Linked DNA regions of Homo sapiens: region 1 is linked to region 2. The links are contacts of gene promoters, found by promoter capture Hi-C in human tissues and cell types (Jung and others, 2019). All regions are on one chromosome and are shown on one strand. The core of a region is centred on a gene start or on the middle of the fragment in contact, and the rest is flanking DNA. Distances in the headings are between cores, read along the strand shown. Region 1 has its middle 38 kb from the start of CRISPLD2. Region 2 holds the start of CRISPLD2 (cysteine rich secretory protein LCCL domain containing 2).

The links. The method cuts DNA at HindIII sites, captures the fragments that hold promoters and counts their contacts. A contact is called where the count stands out against the background at its distance.
Region 1: a fragment that was not itself captured here is called in contact with the fragment with the promoter of CRISPLD2 in region 2 in 7 of the 25 tissues and cell types used here (IMR-90 fibroblasts, bladder, mesenchymal stem cells and 4 more).

The regions. Positions count from the first base shown.
Region 1 is chr16:84,780,106-84,783,820 of GRCh38, forward strand. It overlaps a transcript of LOC105371378 not described here. Among named protein-coding and RNA genes, the nearest start is that of CRISPLD2, 38 kb to the right of the region's middle. The HindIII fragment of the contact is 6,097 bases long and covers 1-3,715 here.
Region 2 is chr16:84,818,624-84,822,192 of GRCh38, forward strand. It overlaps CRISPLD2 (cysteine rich secretory protein LCCL domain containing 2), which reads left to right and starts at 1,362. Exons shown (of 15, transcript NM_031476.4): 1 at 1,362-1,510. RefSeq lists a silencer at 1,135-1,324. The HindIII fragment of the contact is 19,202 bases long and covers 1-3,569 here.

The sequences.
Region 1 (3,715 bases), core at 740-3,239, 38 kb before region 2:
AAGTTTTTGACTCTTCGATTGGCAGAAAGGAGGAGGTTTTCTCCCCTTCCCCTCCTCATCCCTTGTTTCTATAGCCCACCGTTTTCAGTATCACCAAAATAGTTGCTGTAGGTCAAGGCTAAATGCTCTTCAGTTGAGTGCCACTGGGGCGGCTGAGCGGTGCCTCCAGACGCCACCCTCAGTAGTGGGAAGGAAGCCTTCTGAGACGGAAGACATGGAGAGAGGGATGTCACGTGCAAGGGTGCCCGTGCCCCGGCTTCTGGCCCTGTGTGGATGATTGTGGTGTCCTGAGATCTACAGAGAAGGGGTTTTAACGTGGTCTGAGCCTTTCTCTCAAGTTCTTGCTCTTACCATCTGGTATTTCTGATTGTAGCCTGGTGCCATCTGGGGTTCAGAGCTTCCTAAACTTTCTGTACAAGTGTTGTCCGTCTAACCTACTTACCCTTTGTAATTCTATTGTGATTTGCTTGGCTGAATTATAACTCATATTGAGAGGTGAAGCCAGCTGGACTTCCTGGGTCAAGTGGGGACTTGGAGAACTTTTCTGTCCTCTAAGAGGATGGTAAAATGCACCAATCAGCACTTTGTAGCTAGGATTGTAAAACGCACCAACCAGCACTCTGTAGCTAGCAAGAGGTTTGTAAAATGCACCAATCGGTTCTTAAAACGCACCAATCAGCAGGAGTCTAAAAGCAGCCAATCACAGGGAGGACTGAAAAAAGAGCACTCTGATAGGACAAAAACAGAACATGGGAGGGGACAAATAAGGGAATAAAAGCTGGCCGCCCCAGCCAGCAGTGGCAACCCGTTTGGGTCCCCTTCCACACTGGAAGCTTTGTTCTTTTGCTCTTCACAATAAATCTTGCTGCTGCTCATAGAAAGATGCAAGCTAGTGCTAGCGAGACAGCCTGCAAAACCCCTGTGTTGTTTTGGGCTGTTAACCATAGTCTGAGTGGCTTAGACAACAAACATTTATTTCTCACAGTTCTAGAGGCTAGAAGTCCAAGAGCAGATGCCAGCAGACCTGTCTGGGGAAGGCCTGCTTCTTGGCCTGGAGACAGCCGCTTGCTCACTATGTCTTCACAGGGCAGAGTGAACCCTGGTCTGTTTCTCTTACAAGGACACTCATCCCACTGTGGGCCTCCACCTTTGTGATTTCATCTATACCTAAAAGGCCCCACTTCCTAGTATTCCGCCGGGGGTTCAGGCTTCAAAGATGAATACTGGGGGCGACACAAACGGAGCCCATAACCTCATGCCGCCTGACTCCTGAGGCTGTATTCGTGATGAACGTGTGGCTGCCCAAGTTTTGTTTTGCTCAGGCAGGATCAGCACACACCCAGCCACAGACAGGGAAGCCCAGAGCAGGGCAGAATATGGTCCCTCAAGTGAATAATTGGCCCAGGGATACAGAATTAGGTGATTCTAGCAAATCCAGACATTTTCTAGGGTGCCAGTGAATTTTGGGTCTGTCCCTGTTAGCTGTTCTTGAGATTTTGCACTCAACTTGCGATGGTTAATACGGAGTGTCAACTTGATTGGATTGAAGGATGCAAAGTATTGTTTCTGGGTGTGTCTGTGAGGGTGTTGCCAAAGGAGATTAACATTTGTGTCAGTGGGCTGGGAAAGGCAGACCCACCCTCAATCTGGGTGGGCACCATCTAATCAGCTGCCAGCGTGGCCGGAATAAAAGCAGGCAGGAGAATGTGGAAAGACTAGACTAGTCTTGTGGCCTCCATCTTTCTCCTGTGCTGGATGCTTCCTGCCCTTGAACATCGGACTCCAAGTTCTTCCGTTTTGGGACTTGGATTAGCTTCCTTGCTCCTCAGCCTGCAGACGGCCTACTGTGGGACCCCTTCTTGTAAGTCAATACTCCTTAATAAACTCCCCTTTATATATACATCTACCTATAGGTTCTGTCCCTCTAGAGAACCCTAACGCACAACGTTTCCATTTTATGTTGCAACGTTTAATGTTTTTGTAAGTTTCATAGTACGGTCTCCTAACTTTAGGTTATTTACTTCGGGAACTTTGCTCATTAACCTTGGTGCTGAGGCTACAGACTTAGTGATTTTCCTTCATTATCATTTAACATGCCTTTGTAGGTGGCATTTAAAGCAGTGAATGGTTACATTTTTAGTATGTTATAGGGAGATTTTCCTCGCATTTGTCAGTTGTTGACAACAAGACTTGGAAGTTCTCTTACAGGGAAGATGTCATGAAGTTTACCTGGTTGGTATGTTATTTGTCCACTAGCCAAGGAAGCGCAAGCCACTGTGTGTTTGAGGCAGGATGGAGAATGGAGGTCATTCTGGCCTCCACTGGTGTAACTATGGTTCAGCCACCCAAGTGGCTCACAGTGGCATTCTGCTTTCATTTCTCTCTCTCTCTCTTTTTTTTTTTTTTTTTTTTGAGATGGAGTTTTGCCCTCGTTGCCCAGGCTGGAGTGCAGCGGTGCGATCTCAGGTCACCGCAACCTCCACCACCCAGGTTCAAGCGATTGTTCTGCATGTGCCACCACACCCGGCTAATTTTGTATTTTTAGTAGAGACGAGGTTTCACCATGTTGGTCAAGCTTGTCTCGAACTCCTGACCTCAGGTGATCCAGCTGCCTCGGCCTCCCAACATGCTGGGATTACAGGCGTGAGGCACCGTGCCCAGCCCCTGCTTTCATTGCTTGATGTCATTGGTCATACCATCCTAGTCTAATGTGTGGGCAACGTGAGCAGGAACTTTGCAGTCAGCAAAGGCATCATCTTAGAATGTCTTTTATTTGGTGACGTTTCTGATTATTGCTGTCATAGACTGCTTATACTTGACCAGGCCAACTGGTTACAAAGTGACAAGCATAGTCCAAGTCAGTGGCTTTTGAACTATGGGAAATAACCCAATAAACCAGTGAGCTAGTATTGTACAGCCAACTCACGTTCATGAGTCAATGAGAATGAGCAAGTTGTAGCAGTGTGGACACAGCAGTCTCTTGGCTTCATTTCTCTTGGGAAGTGCTGAGTGCATCAAAAGAACTAAAAACAGCAAGAGACAGAAGACTCACAGTTTTTCTGGTACTTCTCTGGCTCAAGAAGGAAAAATATCTTGACTGAGCCTAGTGAAGACAGTATCTCTATACCAATTTCCTGAGGGTCAGTGGACTTAAAAGAGATTAGACCAAAATGTTAGTGTTTTTAAAATCCGTGTCTAGCAAGGCCAAGTGGTAATAGCCAACTCTACACGAAGTGTTTTGTGTTTCCTTTATTGTTTTTTGTTTGTTCGTTTGTTTGTTTGTTTTCTGAGACAGTCTTGCTCTTGTTGTCCAGGCTGGAATGCAATGGCATAATCTCAACTCATTGCAACCTTCACCTCCTGGGTTCAAGTGACTCTCCTACCTCAGCCTCTCGAGTAGCTGGGATTATAGGCACCTGCCACCACACCAGATAATTTTTGTATTTTTGGTAGAGACGGGGTTTCGCCATGTTGGCCAGACTGGTCTTGAACTCCTGACCTCGTGATCCATACACCTCGGCCTCCCAAAGTGCTGGGATTACAGGCATGAGCCAACACGCCCGGCATGTTTTTCCTTTAAAATCAGTCACAGCAAAAGTCACCGAGCAGACACTGTTCTGCCTTCTTCAGACATTTTCTCTGGCTTCCTAGGAATTGGGGTTTTTTTTGTTGTTTTTGTTTGTTTGTTTGTTTGTTTGTTTTAGTGTTATTCATC
Region 2 (3,569 bases), core at 112-2,611:
TTTTAGTAGAGACAGTGTCACCATGTTGGCCGGGATGGTTTCGAACTCCTGATCTCAGGTGATCCGCCCGCCTCAAACTCCCACAGTGCTGGGATTACAGGTGTGAGCCACCGCGCCCGGCCAGTCTGCATTATTCTGTATCTGCATTTGAGCCGCACCAAAATCTTAGGCAAGCCTTCCCTGTTTGAGTCCACGTCACGCAGGCAGCCTTCCATAGTCCTTGTTCCACCCATTCCCCATCCTTGTTTCTCCCACGTGCCCTAGCTCGTGGGGGCCCCAGACTCTGAGATCCCGGAGGTGTCTTGTTTGTGCCTGCTGTATAGCACAGGGCCCGGCACAGAGCGACTCGATGGGTATTTGGGGAATGAGTTAATGCTGGAGGAGCTAATTCCGGTGTCTTGGTGCGGAGATGAGCAGTGCGGACAGGCCCCCTCCTGCCCTTGGGCCCCAGCACCTTACCGCGCAGTGCCTGCATACCCGTCCACATTTTGTGACTGAGGCGGGAGCACGGGGCAGTCCCTTAGCTCTTAAGGAACGTGGATTTACCTGTTTCAAAGGTGATTTCGTCTGGCTCTAAATTGATTTCCGTATGTACCTGCACAGGTTAAAAATGCTAAATGCCTCCGGGCAAAAGAGATATGAACATGCTGCACTGCTCCTAGCTACGGGACTTGGGGCACGCTCTTCTCCAAGCCTCAGCTACTGGATCTGTGAAATGAGGTGATTTCCACCTCCCTGGATTCCTGGGAACGCGTCCTAGGGTCGTTGAAGGTAAAGTGCGGAGCCTGGATCCCCGCGCTAGCGGCCCCATCCGGAAACAAGTCTCCCTTTCTTCGTCTGCAAATTGGGAAGAGGGGGCCTAAGTTTTCTGAGCACGTGTAGAGGGTGGGAGTCACCTCAGTAACTGTGTACTCTGCACCGCGCCACAGTTCACAGCGCCCAGCCCTTGCGGATTTCATTTGCTAAAATCCTGGGAGGTCGCCTCCTTATTCCTATTTTCCAGTTGAGCTGCAGAGAGCTGGGGTTTGGTAAATTTGCAAGCCCCTTGTGGGAAGCGCTTGGCACCGCGCCAGGCGCATAGTAAGCGCTCAATGAAAACTATGCTTGTGTGGCCAGTGGCGAGGGAGCTGAGCGTCTCCTTGTCCCTAGCCGGCCCTGGAGGCCAGCGGCCCCGCCTTCCTCGCCCACCCGGCGCCCGCGCCTCAGCTGCCCCCCGCCTCCTTCAGCCCGCTGAGCCTGCGGGGCGGGGCCGGGGGCGGGGCCGGTGATGCTCGGTCCTACCAGCGCCGCCAGCGATCTGGGGGCGTGGCCTCCGGGCTCCGGGGAGCCTACAAGAGGCGGTACGCTGAGCCCCGGCACCCACTCGCATCCCAGGGCGTCTCCGGCTGCTCCTATTGAGCTGTCTGCTCGCTGTGCCCGCTGTGCCTGCTGTGCCCGCGCTGTCGCCGCTGCTACCGCGTCTGCTGGACGCGGGAGACGCCAGCGAGCTGGTGATTGGAGCCCTGCGGAGGTAAGTGTGATTTCCATGCTTCTCCCTTTTGCAAACTGTTACCCCCCCGAGAAGCTGGAATAACTAGGACAGATGCCACCTCGCAGGGCTGACTGTGTGCTGGCACCACACCGAGTGCTCTGCTTGCATAGCGGAACACAGCTTTGCGACATGCCCTTTTGCAGATGGAGAAACTGAGGCTCAGCGAGGACAACTCATTTGTCCAGGACCTCGCAGCCAGGACTCCAAGGACCCAGGATTCAACGCCGATCTGAGCGCAGAATCCTGCTCCTTAGAGGCTGTTTACTCTCTTGCCTTCCTCGTGCAGTTCACTAGCATTTGTTGCATTCCTGTGTTCGTAGTGGGTGTCAATAACTGGAAAGCTGATGGCATGGATATGGCAGGCATTAGAATGTGTCCTACTCATGTCTGGAGGACCAGGGTGATCTAGTGGCATGTGCATTCAGCTGCAGTTTAGAGGGCCACGCCCCTCTGTGATTTCATTTGCAAGGTAGCCTTCTTCCCACATTTCAGATGAAGATGCTGAGGGTCAGAGAGGTGAAGTAAGTTGTCCGGGCAGAGCCAGGGCTGGAACCCAGCTCTGTCTGTCTCCAGAGCTTCAAATGGATGTGTAGAGACTTGGGGCCATGTCAGGGTTCTGCAGTCTGGGGGAACACGTTTCTGGGTTTCTTTAGCCAGAGCGGGCACCTGCATAACTCCTGCGTGGGGAGAGTTACCCTGGAAGCGGAGGGCTCACTCTGGAGTGTGGGGGAGATCGGTCGTCCCACGTGGACAGAGCCAGGGCTAGTCCCTCATGTGCTGCAGACCCAGAGCCTCCCTTGCTAAGGCTGGGCTGGTGGACAAGCCAGGGAGGACTTCGCTGATGCCTGCTCATCGCAGTCCAACTTGAATTGGGCGTCTCTCAGCCAAAATGTGAGTTGCTGCCCTGGCTGAGAGAAGCATCCCGTGCAAATGCCTAGCTTGCCTTGCAACCGAGAGTGGGGTTGTGAGTTTCCCCTTTGGGCCTTTGGACCTCTTGCCCTGGTAGAATGGGGTGAGCCTGCTTTCCCCATCCAGGGTCTGATGTCTGACAGTGAGGAGAGCCTGCAGAACAGGACCGGGGCGTGGTCCTTTCCAGTAGACTGAGGCCATGAGTTGTGACTGTCGGCTGTCCCAGGGCTCCTTGGGTTGTATGCACCTGATTTTCTGCTTCTGCCCCTGATCTGGCTGTTCCCACTCAGGAGAAGGGGTGGGTGTGTGACTGTGTTGCCTGTGCGGCAGGCACGCGGTCTGTGCCACGCAGTTTACCTGTATTGTCATCGCTGCAACACCCCGGGGAGTAGGCCTCTTGATGCCCACTTCACAGCTGAGGAAACTGAGGCTCAGCAAGGTGAAGTGCTTGCCTAAGATCCCCCAGCTGGTATGGAATGCTGTCACCCCCAGGTGGGTCCTATCTGCACTCTTGACCCTGCTTTCTTTAAGACACTTCCCTGCCCACTGCCAACTCCACCCATGAACCTGACCTTCACACAGGTGATGTTTTGTCTTACAGGGGCTCCAGTTAAAACCACTGGACAATGTACCCAGGGAGGAGAAACCAAGAGGGTGATTTTGATTTTTTCAGAGTTTCTTAAGATGTGAGAGTAGGAATAGTAATAATGCCATTTGTAATAATACAAGCAGCTGACATTTACATGATGCTTAGTACAGACCAGACATGCCCAGGGTTTCCACGGATGAGCTCACTGCCTGCTCTATTAGCTGGGCACTTTTTACAAGGAGTTAGTTGAGGCTCAGAATTATTAAGGTGTGTGCCCAACATGACACAGCCAGGGCGGGGTAGAGCTGCCGTCCAGGCTGGGCCCTGCCCCAGATTCTGGGGGAAGGTGCCCATCTAATGACCAGCCACATGACTGTCCCAGCAGAGCTTGCTGCTAGTTGAGGCTTTCTGTGCCATGTGGGAGTTTTTTTAACGTTGGCAGGGATCTGGGTCCCTGGTCCCTGTTGGGGTGAGGCTGGGAGGGGATCAACTGACCCTGGGCTTGGGCTCAACATTGCTGACAGGTACTGAGAGCCCCGT